Regions from separate parts of the Homo sapiens genome. Here region 2 is linked to region 1. The links are contacts of gene promoters, found by promoter capture Hi-C in blood cells and fetal thymus (Javierre and others, 2016). All regions are on one chromosome and are shown on one strand. Each heading gives the region's core, a stretch centred on a gene start or on the middle of the fragment in contact. The rest is flanking DNA. Distances are from core to core; before and after follow the strand shown. Region 1 holds the start of TRIM21 (tripartite motif containing 21). Region 2 has its middle 19 kb from the start of OR52K1.

Region 1 (7,203 bases), core at 2,346-4,845:
AGGTTTGCGAAGCTTTGGTGGGCTCCACCCAATTCGAACTTCCCAGCAGTTTTGTTTACACTGTGAGGGGAAAACCGCCTACTCAAGCCTCAGTAATGGTGGATGCCCCTCACTCCACCAAGCTCAAGCATCTCAGGTCAATTTCAGATTGCTGCACTGGCAGCAAGAATTTCAAACCCGTGGATCTTAGCTTGCTGGGCTCCATGGGGGTGGGATCCACTGAGCTAGACCACTTGGCTCCCTGGCTTCAGCCCCCTTTCCAAGGGAGTGAACAGTTCTGTCTTGCTGGTGTTCCAGACGCCACTGGGGCATGAAAAATCCTGCCGCTAGCTCAGTGTCTGCCCAAACAGCCACCCAGTTTTGTGCTTCAAACCCAGGGTCCTGGTGGTGTAGGCATCCAAGGGAATCTCCTGGTCCGTGGGTTGCATAGACCATGGGAAAAGCATAGTATCTGGGCTGGATAGCACCATTCCATCAGGTCCTTTAAGGACTTCTCTGCATTGGTTATTCTGACCTAAAACCACAAAAACCCTAGAAGAAAACCTAGGCAATACCATTCAGGACATAGGCATGGGCAAGGACTACATGTCTTAAACACCAAAAGCAATGGCAACAAAAGACAAAATTGACAAATGGGATCTAATTAAAGAGCTTCTGCACAGCAAAAGAAACTACCATCAGAGTGAATGGGCAACCTATAGAATAGGAGAAAAATTTTGCAATTTACTCATCTGACAAAGGGCTAATATCCAGAATCTACAAAGATCTCAAACAAATTTACAAGAAAAAAACAACCCCATCAAAAAGTGGGCAAAGGATATGAACAGACACTTCTCAAAAGAAGATATTTATGCAGCCAACAGACACATGGAAAAATGCTCATCATCACTGGCCATCAGAGAAATGCAAATCAAAACCACAATGAGATACTATCTCACAGCAGTTAGAATGGCGATCATTAAAAAGTCAGGAAACAATGGGTGATAGACAGGATATGGAGAAACAGGAGCACTTTTACACTGTTGGTGGGACTGTCAACGAGTTCATCCATTGTGGAAGACAGTATGGTGATTCCTCAAGGATCTAGAACTAGAAATACCATTTGACCCAGCCATCCCATTACTGGGTATATATCCAAAAGATTATAAATCATACTGATATAAAGACACATGCACACATATGTTTATTGTGGCACTATTCACAATAGCAAAGACTTGGAACCAACCCAAATGTCCAACAATGATAGACTGGATGAAGAAAATGTGGCACATATACACCATGGAATGCTATGCAGCCATAAAAAAGGATGAGCTCATGTCCTTTGTAGGGACATGGATGAAAGTGGAAACCATCATTCTCAGAAAACTATTGCAAGGACAAGAAAACCAAACACCGCATGTTCTCACTCATAGGTGGGAATTGAACAATGAGAACACATGGACACAGGAAGGGGAACATCACACACTGAGGCCTGTCCTGGGGTGGGGGGAGGGGGGAGGGATAGCATCAGGAGATATATCCAATGTAAATGAGTTAATGGGTGCAGCACACCAACATGGCACGTGTATACATATGTAACAAACCTGCATGTTGTGCACATGTACCCTAGAACTTAAAGTATAATTTAAAAAAAAATCTAAGGCCTCAAACTATGAAACTACTACAAGAAAATATTGGGGAAACTCTCCAGGACATTGGACTGGGCAAAAATTTCTTTCAAATATTCCATAAGCACAGGCAACCAAAGCAAAACTGGACAAATGAGATCACATCAAGTTAAAAAGCTTCTGCACAGCAAAGGAAACAATGAAGTAGAGAGATAACCCACAGAATTGGAGTAAATATTTGCAAACTATCCATCTGACAAGGGATTAATAACCAGAATATACAAAGAACTCAAACAACTCTATAGGAAAAAAATATAATAATCTGATTCAAAAATGGACAAACGATCTGAATAGACATTCCTCAGAAGAAGACATACAAGTGGCAAATGGATATATGAAAATGTGTTCAACACCACTGATCATCAGAGAAATGCAAATCAAAACTACGAGATATTATCTCACCTCAGTTAAAATGTCTTTTAACCAAAAGAAAGGCAATAACAAATGCTGGCAAGGATATGTAGAAAAGGGAACCCTCATACACTGTCAATGGGAATGGAAATTAGTACAAACACTATGGCAAACAATTTGAAGGTTCCTCAAAAAAAAAAAAAAACCTGAAAATAGAGCTACCATGTAATCTAGCAATCCTACTGGATACTGCTAGGTATATACCCAGAAGAAATACTGTTAGGTATATATCCAAGAGAAAGGAAATCAGTATATCAAAGAGATATCTGCACTCCCATGTTTATCGCAGCACTATTCACAATAGCCAAGATTTGGAAGCAACGTAAGTGTCCATCAACAGATAAATGGATAAGGAAAGTGTGGTACACATACACAATGGAGCACTATTCAGCCATAAAAAGAAGGAGAACCTTTCATTTGCTACAAGATGGATGGAATTGGGGATTATTATGTTAAGTAAAATAAACCAAACACAGGCAAACAAACAAATTGTTATGTTCTCACTTATTTGTGGGAGTTAAAAATTAAAACAATCCAACTCATGAAGATAGAGAGGATGATGGTTACCAAAGGCTGGGAAGGGTAGTGGGGAATGATTAATGGGTTCAAAAATACATGAGAGAGAATGAATAAGATCTAGTATTTTATAGCATAACAAGGTGAATACAGTCAATGATAATTTATCATTTTAAAATAACTAAAAGCATATAACTGGATTGTATATAACACAAATGATAAGTGCTTGAGGTGATGGATAGATACCCCACTTACCCTGATATGATTATTACGGATTGTATGCTCTACCTGTATCAAAATATTTCATGTACCCCACAAATATATACACCTACTATAGACACACAAGATTGAAAATTAAAAAAATTACTTTGGTAAATTTTATGTTCTATATTTTTACGATTAAAAATAAAAATAATATAACCTGAGAATGTCCCTAGCTCAGTGACAAGAACACAGTTGGTTGTCAAATGTCAATTTCCTTCTCACCACTCACTGGTGGGACACTCACCTTGGGGTCATGCGAAATAAATCACTCACCTGCAGGCGTTAAAAAATATTAGTCACATCAGTCACATGAAAATAATTAGCTTCTGGAAGTAAGCAGATGGTGGCACGCGAGGAAGAGCACCGGCCACTCTTCTCTGCATCAAAACTTCCTTAAAAGCATCTTCCAGACATGGACATAGCGTCTAGGTGTGGAGTGATGACCAGTGTCAAAGAAAGCAGCCCGGACTCCCCCGTCTTGTAGATATTTTACCAAATCAGATAATGAAGACATGGGAGGGAGCGCGCAACCAGGACCACGGGCTACTGAGTTTCCACTCCTTCCCAGTCTCAGAGAAGCCTCCTGGGCATGCAGAGCCTCTGAAGCCTCCCCCAGCTCAACTCTGACTTCTCTTCTCAGCCGCATTTCTCCACACACCCTTTCAAGGCTCTGCTCCTCCCACTGCTCCTCCCTCACTCCTCCCACGGCTCCTCCTCCTCCCTCCCCTTTCCTCTCAGACTTGCTTCTGAGCGGAAACTGAAAGTGAAATAGGGAGCTGGCTACCAGCGTTGAGTCCCCTGTAAAGGTGAGTGAACCCCACTAGATCAAGGGACCCCTGCCCTCCTAGGGGACCTCTCTCCCCTGCCCCAGGGTTGCAGAGCCCCTTCCAGTCTCCATCCTTGAGCCGGTCCCATTTGCCCCTTCTCCCACCAGGGATCCCTCAACCCAAGACCAGCTGCGCTTCCGGTGCTGGCCCCCTGCTTGGGAGGAGGCTGGGGTGTGGACCTGACTGCCGAGTTACCCAGAAGGGGAAGGGGCCCGGCTGCCCCCTACCTGGGAGGAGGCTGGGTTGTGGACGTGACTGTGGAGTTACCCAGAAGGGGAAGGGGCCCGGCTGCCCCCATGCTGGCACCTGACCTAGGATGACGGCTGGGTGTGGCTGGGATAGCCAGGACTACAGCCTAGCCAGGAGGGTAGGGAGCCCAGTGTCGGGGAGGTCTGCAATTCTGGAGACTCCCAGGTCCAAAAGTCCTCCAGAGGTGAGAGGGGCAGGCTGTTTAGGATGTTCAACCAGAAATGTATAGGCCTTCAGAATTATTCTTTGTCCTAGAATAAGTGTTGTCAGGAACTAAACTAAGTTTGGAGCAGCTGAGAAAAGAGCCCAGGGAGTGCTGGCCACGGTTCCTGTTACTCTGTGTGTATACATACATATACACCTACATACATATATGCAACTGACTTCCGCCGTTATAGGAGGGATTAATGAAGATATATTCAAAGCATGAAGTATCTCTGGCACATGGAAGGTACATGGTAAAAAGTAGCTATAATTTCTCAGCAACATGGAGGCCTGTTGGTACCCGACAGGAGATGGATGAGCACTGAGGGTTTAAGCAGGAATGGACATGATGAGAGTAGAACTGTCAACAGCTTTATGAGGTTCTTGCCAATTTTCATTCCCTCTTTTAGGGACTCAGTTTCTCCTTCTGTCTCACTGGATCAATGGACCAAACAATGGAGGAGTTCTTGTTATTCAGAACAGGAATAAACTTATTCAACAAACTGTTTGATCGGTGCAAAAGTAATTACTGTTTTTGACATTAATTGTTTTGCCATTAATTTTATGCCTTGTTTTGTTTTGTTTTGTTTTTGAGAGGGAGTCTCGCCGTGTCACCCAGGCTGGAGTGCAATGGCACAATCTTGGCTCACTGCAACCTCTGCCTCCCAGGTTCAAGCAATTCTCCTGCCTCAGCCTCCCAAGTAGCTGGGATTACAGGTGCCCACCACCACTCCCAGCTAATTTTTGTATTTTTAGTAGAGACAGGGTTTTACCATATTGGTCAGGCTGGTCTTGAACTCCTGACCTAAGGTGATCCACCCACCTCGGCCTCCCAAAGTGCTGGGATTACAGGTGTGAGCCACCGTGCCTGACCCATTATTTTTATTCTTATTTTTTATTTTCCTTTGCATCATTTTGTTTTTCTTTTTTTAGTATATTTTTAATTTTTGTGGGCACATAGTAGGTATATTTATGGGTATATGGAATATTGTGATACAGGTATACAATGTGTAATAATCACATCAGGGTAAGTGGGGCATCTATCACCTCAAGCATTGATCATCTGTAATACAAACTATGCAATTATACTCTTATTTTTAATGTACAATTAAATTATTGACTATAGTCACCCTGTTGTACTATCAAATACTAGATCTAATTCACTCCACTTTTGTACCCATTAACCATCCCATCTTCTCCCCCACACACAGACCCTCCCTATTACTCTTCCCAGCCTCTGGTAACCATCTTTCTATTATCTAACTCCATGAGTTCAATTGTTTTAATTTTTAGCTTCTACAAATGAGTGAGACCATACAATGTTTGTGTTTCTGTGCCTGGCTTATTTCACCTAACATAATGACCTCCAGTTCCATTCATGTTGTTGTGAATGACAGGATCTCATTATATTTTATGACTGAACAGTACTCCATTGTGTATACATACCACATTTTCTTTATCCATATATCTGTTGATGGACTCTTAGATTGCTTCCAAATCTTGGCTATTGTGAAACGTGCTGCAGTAAACATGGAAGTGTGGATATCTCTTTGATATACTGATTTCCTTTCTTTGGGGTATATGCTAGCAGTGGGATTGATGGATCATATGGTAGCTCTATCTTCAGTATTTTGAAGAACCTCCAAACTGTTCTCTGTAGTGATTGTACTAATTTACCTTCCCACCAACAGCATATGAGTGTACCCTTTTCTCCACACCCTCACCAGCATTTGTTATAGCCTGTCTTTTGGAGAAAAGACATTTTAACTGAGATGAGATTATATCTCATTGTAGTTTTGATTTGCATTTTTCTGATAATCAATGATGTTGAGCAACTGTTCATATGCCTGTTTGTCATTTGTATGACTTCTTTTGAGAAATGTCTGTTCAGATCTTTTGTCCATTTTTGAGTCAGATTATTATTTTTTTTCCTATAGAGTTGTTTGAGCTCCTTATATATTCTGGTTATTCATCCCTTGTCAGATGGATAGTTTACAAATATTTACTCCAATTCTGTGGGCTGTCTCTTCACTTTGTGGATTGTTTCTTTTGCTGTGCAGCACCTTTTCAACATGATGTGATCCCATTTGTCCAAGTTTGCTTTGGCTGCCTGTGCTTGTGGGATATTTGAAAGAAATCTTTGCCCAGTCCAATGTCCTAGAGAGTTTTCCCAATGTTTTCTTATAATAGTTTCATAGTTTGAGGCCTTAGATTTAAGTCTTTAATCCATTTTGATTTGATTTCTGTATACGGTGAGACATAGGAGTGTAGTTTCATTCTTCTGCATGTGGATATCCAGTTTTCCCAGCAGCATTTATTGAAGAGACTGTCCTTTCCTCACTGTATGTTCTTGGTAGCTTTGTTGAAAATGTGCTCACTGTGGATGTACAGATTTGTTTCTGGGTTCTTTATTCTACTGGTCTATGTGTCTGTTTTTATGCCAGTACCATGCTGTTTGGGTTACTTTAGCTCTACAGTATAATTTGACGTCAGATGATGTGATTCCTCCAGTTTTGTTCTTTTTGCTCAGGATAGCTTTGGCTATTCTGAGTCTTTTGTGATTCCATATAAATTTTAGGATTGTTTTTTCCTATTTTTGTGAAGAATGTCATTGGTATTTTGATAGGGATTATGTTGACTTTTTGTTTTTCTTACACAGACTTTCTCATATTCTCTTTTCCCTTTCTTCTTCTCTCCCAGCCAAACCCCCTAAAGGTCTCCACACTGCTGTTTAACGGCACACTTGACAATGGCTTCAGCAGCACGCTTGACAATGATGTGGGAGGAGGTCACATGCCCTATCTGCCTGGACCCCTTCGTGGAGCCTGTGAGCATCGAGTGTGGCCACAGCTTCTGCCAGGAATGCATCTCTCAGGTTGGGAAAGGTGGGGGCAGCGTCTGTCCTGTGTGCCGGCAGCGCTTTCTGCTCAAGAATCTCCGGCCCAATCGACAGCTAGCCAACATGGTGAACAACCTTAAAGAAATCAGCCAGGAGGCCAGAGAGGGCACACAGGGGGAACGGTGTGCAGTGCATGGAGAGAGACTTCACCTGTTCTGTGAGAAAG
Region 2 (7,203 bases), core at 3,365-5,864, 110 kb before region 1:
GATGTTTCTGTCTTGAGGCTTCAGGAAAAAAAAATCTTAGAGCCATAGATAGCTATCGTTCTACCAACAGCCCAAGCCAAATGCTTGGCAACGGACTTGGCAATTATTAACAATCAAATATTTTCACTGTTTTGCATACAATATTAGATCCTCAGTTACTGCTTAACTTCAAGAAGGACTGAAACTGAAAACACTAAAGTCCTAAAGTGGGGGTGAAGAGTTTTTAAAAATATTTGTAGACTGATAATGGGATCATCTAAATCTTTCCCATTCTGGAAGTTTCAGATCAAACACCAGGGCTGAACATGTTCTTTAGAGAGATCCTCCAACATTTGCCATGAACTCCTTAAGTGCATGAAGAGATGTATAGTTTTTAAAATCATTTTGAGTTTATAACTACAATTTTTATCAGATTAAATAATTTTAATAGAATTCCTGGATTATAGTAAATATTGACATCTTAAAATAATACTGGATGTCATCACAATGGCAGACTAGAAGATAACAGGCAGAGTAGAAGATGCCAGCCTTCATTTCCCCACATATACCTACCCACACAACAAATAGAGAGCTATCCACAAATCAAAATAGCCCTGGGGGGCCTCAAGAGCCAATTTAAGAATCTGCAGCAACACAGTGGAGCAAAAGTAGAGAATATCCACACAAAGGTTCACTGATGAGAAGGGCATACCTGAGGTGGCTACAAAGAAGACAGGGGTGATTGTATCAGCCATGGGGCAGGAACCACTGGTTTCCAGTGTGGTCTGCTCTGAAAAAGAAACCAGCATCTTCTTCAACTTAGGCAATCAATGACCATTCATACTGGAGAGCCCCAGAGAGGGAGACACAGCTGTACACACACCAAAAAAACAGCTGCCATTGTGCCACTCCAGGACTAGAGCTACCACTTCTCCCAATACTGCATGTGCCCCAGGGTCCCAAGCCATGGCCACTCTGCAAGTGCCCACATTCCAGATCCTGGCTCTGTGGCTGCATTGTGCCTACCCATGCCTCTGACACCAGATCCATCACCACAGCAAGCTAATTGACACCCATACCCTGAAGCCAAAGTCTCTCTGCATGCCAACACTTGAGACACCAGCTCAGCTACCACTAAGAAGTAGCTAGCCTGTGTTCCAGTCCTAGATCTAAGGCTGCACAATGTAGGCCCATGCCTCAGACACCAGAGCAATTTGCACCCAGAGCTAAGGTCTCGGCATGTACCCATAGAGAGCTAGACCCCAGATCCATTGTAGCTTTACGTACAACTGTGCTGCCATCCATGGCTGCTTCACAAGCACCCACACTTCACATATCATTACCAATTTAACCATATAAGTGCCTGAACCCCAGGTCCTGGTGCCATTACCACCCCAGGCCCAAAGCTATAGTCCTTCTATGCATGCCACACTTCAGGCCTCCATGAGCACTACTCACCAGACATGGGTGCCATTGCCAACTCAAGCAGGCCTGCAAGTTGTACCCCACGCTAAGAGGGATCCCCTCAGCAATAACTTCCCTGAGGGGAGAAAAGGATTTGAAGGACTCCAGCAGTCACTGCCACAAAAGACACGCCAACAGCCCTCACTGCTTCTGCAGACATCCACAGGGTTGGCCACTGAGGATCCCTGAAATTTTAGTTAACATGATCTCAGCAGACAGAGCTGCATGGAGACTATACCGACATGCCATCTTCAGTGCCAAAACCACTGACCCACACCCAGCCAGTGCCTTCACCCCTCCTTTTAGGGGAAAGTCTTTCCCCACCAAAACCAGTCTATAAAGTCTGGAAGAGATGACTACTCCACCAAATGAAAAGACAATGTAAGACAGAAACTTGAAAAGCAAAGCCATCACCATAAAAAGAACATGATTTCCTAGCAGCTGACCCCCAAAAATGGATATCTATGAACTACTTGATAAAGAATTCAAAATAATTGTTTTAAAATATCTTAGACTCAAGAAAATAGAGTAATAATTCAAAAAAAACTAGGAAGACAAATGTAACAGATGAAATTTTTAAAATTCCGGAGCTAAGCAATACAATAAAAATGAAAAAACATCAAATAGAATCAACAGCAGAAGTGATCAAGCAGACGAAAATTTGAGAACAAAGGAGAAAAAGGTAAAAAGCCTATGGAATTTATGAGACAATATCAAGAGAGCTAATTCTTGAATTATAGGAGTTTAGGCAGAACAAGAGGAGAAAAGGACAAAGCTTAATTTAAAAAATAGGTAAAAACTTTCCAATCTGGGAAAATATATAAATATCCAGGTACAAGAAGGTAAAAGGTTTTAAATAAGATTCAATCTAAACAAGACATCAAGGCATACCATAATCAAAGACAAGGAGAATATCCTGAAAACAGCAAGAGAAAAGTCACCTATCGGGGAGTTCTATAAGTCTGATAGTGGATTTCTCAACAGAAACATTATAGGCCAGACAACATACTCAAAGGGCTGAAGGGAAAAAAGGCTAATGAAGTAGCATTTACCCAGCAAGGTGTCCTTTGGAAATGAAGAGAGACAGACTTTCTCAGACAGCCAGGAGATGAGGGAATGCATCAACACCTGACCTGTTTTACAAGAAATGCTAAAGGAAAAATTCAAGCTGAAAGAAAAGGGAGCTAAATTGTAACATGAAAATAGCGGACAGTATAAAACTCACTGGTGTGTTTTTTTTTTTTTTTTAAAGTACATGCTCAGATTCAGAATACTCTGATACTTTAATGGTGATAATATAGTAATATGTAAGTTACTTCCATCTTTAATATGAAGGTTAAAAGACAAAACTGAAAATAGCTACACTAATCGTTAAGGGACAGACAATATAAAAGATGTAAATTGTGACATCAGAAACATAAAATGTGGGTGAGGTTGAGTAAAGCATAGAAATGTTTAATCAAAGTTATCAGCTTAAAATAGCCTATTACAATGTTTTCTGTAGGCTTCCTGTAAATGTCAAAGCAAAAACTTATAGTAAATACACAAAAGATAAAAAGTAAAGAATCAAAATATACCACTACAAAAAATTTTCACAAAGGAAGATAAGATAGAAACCGAAGGCCCTAAAAAAACAGGAAACAATTAGCAAAATGGCAATAGTAAGGCCTTACTTATCAATAATTACCTTGAATGTAAATGAATTAAATTGTCTAATCAAAAGACAGAGTGGCTTAATAGATTAAAAAAGACTCAACTGTATGCTGCCTGAGACTCACTTCACCTGTAAAAACACACACACCAACAGTAAAGATGGTAAAATATATTCCATGCAAATGGGAACCAAAAATAGAGCAGGGGTAGATATACTTAGATAAAATAGAATTTAAGTCAAAAACTGTAAAATGATAATATATGTTGATAAAGGGGTAAATTTATCAAGAAGATATAACAATTGTAAGTATATATGTGTACCCAACATCAGGCCACCTGAATATATAAAGGTAATATTAATAGACAAAGAATGTATAATACAATTACTAGGGGACGTCAATACCCCACTTTCAGCAATGTACAAATAATCTAGAGAGAACATTCATAAGAAAACTGACTAAAAACACTCTAGACCAAATGAACCTGATAACCATATGCAGAACATTTAATCCAAGAATAGCAACATACATATTCTCAAGTACACAAAAAAACATTCTCTAGGATGGACCATGTTAATCCACAAAACAAGGCTTAACAAATTTTAAAAAATCAAAATCGTATCAAGTCTCTTTTTAGACCACAATAGTATGAAACTAAAAATCAATAACTGGAAGAACTTTTGAAAACTTACCAATATATGGAAACTTAAACATTTTCCTGAATAATCAAAGGGTCAAATAAATTAGAGGGGAAATGAAAGATTGAGATAAAAATGGAAGCACAACACACCAAAACTTATGGGATGTAGCGAAGCAATCTAAGAAGGAAGTTACAGCAACAAGCGCCAACATCAAAGATCCCAAACAAATGGCCTAAATGTTACACCTCAAGAAAATAGAAAAAGAAGAAACTAAGCCCCAAATAAGTATGAGGGGAAAAAAAGGCATGAGCAGAAATGAGACTAGAAAAACAATAGAAAATATAAATTAAACTGGGTTGTTTTCTTAAAGATAAACAATATAAAACTTTAGAAAGTCTGAGAAATCTCTACAAACCTAAGAAAGAATGCTCAAAATCAGAAACGGAAAACATTGTAACTGATACCTATAAATATGAAGGATCACTAAAGACCACTATGAATAATTATATGCCAACAAATTGGATAGCTTAGAAGGTTATATGTTTAGATTCCTAAACTTATAACCTACAAAAACTAAATCATGATGAAATTTAAAATATGAGCAGATGAATAAGTAATGAATCAATAATTAAAAATCTTCCACCAAAGAAACTCAAGAGCTGATGGCTTCATTGTGCAATCCTACCATTTAAGGAACTAATACCAATCCTTGTCACACTTCAAAAAATCGAACAAGAACTACTTCCAAACTCATTTTACAAGAGCAGCATTTCCCTGATGCCAAATCCAGACAAGATAGAAGAAATGAAAATTATAGACCAATTTATTTCTGAATATAGATGCAAAAATCCTCAACAAAATACTAGCACAAAATTCAACAGCACATTAAAGAATCATTTAACCATGATCAAGTGGGATTTATCCCAATGATGTGAGGATGGTTCAGTATATGCAAGTTTATAAATGTGATACACAATGTTAACAGTATAAAGGACAAATCATATGATTACCTCATTAGATGCAGAAAAAACTGACAAAATGCAACATCCTTTAGTGACTTAAAAAAAACTATCAACAAATTAAGTATAAAATGTTGTACCTCAGCCAGGTACAGTGGCGTGGCTCATGGCTGTAATCCCAGCACTTTGAAAGGCCGAGGAGGGTGGATCACTTGAGCCCGGGGGTTGGAGACAAGCCTGGCAACATGGTGAAACCCCATCTCTACTACAAATACAAAAAATAGCTGGGCATGGTGGCACATGCCTGTAGTCCCAACTACTCAGGAGGCTGAAGGTGGGAGGGTCACTTGGGCTCTGGAAGGTTGAGGCTGCAGTGAGCCATGATCATACCACTGCACTCCAGCCTGGTGACAGAGTAAGAGCCTATATTTAAAAAAAAAAAAAATTGTACCTTAACACAATAAAGATTGTATATGATAAACTCATAGCTAACAACACTCTCAAAAGTTGAAAGATTTTCCTCTAAGACTGGAAACAAGACAAGGATTCCCACTGTCACCAATTGTATTCAACATAGTGCTGAAGTCTTAGAGCAATTAGGCAAGAGAAAAAAATAAGATATCCAAATCAGAAAGAAGTTAAACTGTCCCTGTTTACAGATGAAATAATCTTGCGTACAGAAAACTAAATATTCTACACACAAAAAACTGTTGGAACTAATAAATTTAGAAAAGTCATAAATAAAAATCAACACATAAAAATCAACAGTGTTTCTATACACAAACAATGAAATATCTGAAAATAAGACAACAATTCCATTCATGATAGCTACGAAAAAATAAAATGTAGAAATACATTTAACCAAGGAGTTAAAGACCTGTGCATTGAAAACTATAAAACACTGAAAGGAGTTGAAAATACAAATAAGTGAGGCCAGGCGCAGTGGCTCACACCTGTAATCCCAGCACTTTGGGAGGCCGAGGCAGGTGGATCATGAGGTCAGGAGATTGAGACCATCCTGGCTAACACAGCGAAACCCCGTCTCTACTAAAAATACAAAAAAAAAAAAAAAAAAAAAAAGCTGGGCGTGGTGGCGGGCACCTGTAGTCCCAGCTACTTGGGAGGCTGAGGCAGGAGAATGGCATGAACCCGGGAGGCAGAGTTTGCAGTGAGCCGAGATCGTGCCACTACACTCCAGCCTGGGTGACAGCAAGATTCCTTCTCAAAAAAAAGAAAATACAAATAAGTGAAAAGATATCCCAAGTTTATGGATCAGAAGAATATTTTTAAGTGCCCATACTATGCAAAGTGATCTACAAATTCAATGCAATCCGTATTAAAATTCCAATGATGTTTTCCTCATGAGTAGAGGGGAAAAATCCTAAATTTTATATGGAACCACAAAAGTTGTGAATAGCCAAAGCAGTCCTGAACAAAAAGAACAAGTGCTGATGAGGATGCAGAGACAAAGGAACATTTGCACACTGTTGGTGGGAATGTAGACTAGTACAGCCATTATGGGGAAAAACTATGGCAGTTCCTTAAATTAAACTCTCATATAAAGTATAACTCTCATATGATCCAATAAACCCTCTTCTTGATGGATATCCACAGGAAATGAAAACCTCATGTTGAAAATAGGTCTGCACTCACATGTTCATTACAGCACTACTCACTATACCCAAGATATGGAATCAACCTAAATGGCCATCAACAGATGAGTGGAGAATGTGGTATGTATACACAACGGGATACTATTCAGCCTTAAAATCCCATCACTTGCAACAATATGGATGAATGTGGATGGCATTATGTTATAAGCCAGGCACAGAAAGACAAATACTATATAATCTCTCATATGTAATCTACAAAAGTGGAGATAGATGATGTTCAACAAAGCCAGCAATAACAAGCAATAGGGAAAGGACCCCCCTATTCAATAAATAGTGCTGGGATAACTGGCTAGCCATATGCAGAAGATTACTCCTGGATCCCTTCCTTACACCATATAAAAGAATCAATTCAAGATGGATTAAAGATTTAAATGCAAGTCTGAATAAAAAAACATATCTGATACCAGCCCTGTAGTTTGAACCTACTTCAGGGAATCCAGTACAATATAGTCAGTTCAGAGAAGTTGGCATGATTACGGATCCTGTGAGGGACAATTCTGCTTCAGAGAAAGAGAAAAGCAGGCTAGGGCTCCAGGGGAAAATCAAGGTACAAATAAGTGAAATTATCAAAATTATATATTATCTGGGCCCAAAACAATTCATTTGACGACAGATTTCTGAGGACTGTGGTCAATAAGCTTGGTGGTAAGCTTGAGCACTCAGAGTATCCCGGGGACACCAGGGGACAAGCCAGTACTAAGTACTCGACTTATTTAAACTTCATAAAAACCCTCCTGTATTATCTCAACCCTGTCCCTGTTCAGCCCTGCTGTAGGGCTCTCAACCTTCTGCCTGTTTGGCCTGGTAATGAGGCCCCAATCCTATCCCTCCACAG

What was found. Contacts are between HindIII fragments. The CHiCAGO score rates a contact against its expected background, and 5 or more counts as called.
Region 2: a fragment that was not itself captured here is called in contact with the fragment with the promoter of TRIM21 in region 1 in 1 of 17 cell types (monocytes); the score reaches 5.3 in monocytes.

The regions. Positions count from the first base shown.
Region 1 is chr11:4,390,094-4,397,296 of GRCh38, reverse strand. It overlaps TRIM21 (tripartite motif containing 21), which reads left to right and starts at 3,595. Exons shown (of 7, transcript NM_003141.4): 1 at 3,595-3,664; 2 at 6,839-7,203. The coding sequence starts at 6,888. RefSeq lists enhancers at 3,415-3,474, 3,495-3,704. The HindIII fragment of the contact is 6,932 bases long and covers 1,787-7,203 here.
Region 2 is chr11:4,497,674-4,504,876 of GRCh38, reverse strand. No RefSeq gene overlaps it. Among named protein-coding and RNA genes, the nearest start is that of OR52K1, 19 kb to the right of the region's middle. The HindIII fragment of the contact is 4,788 bases long and covers 2,221-7,008 here.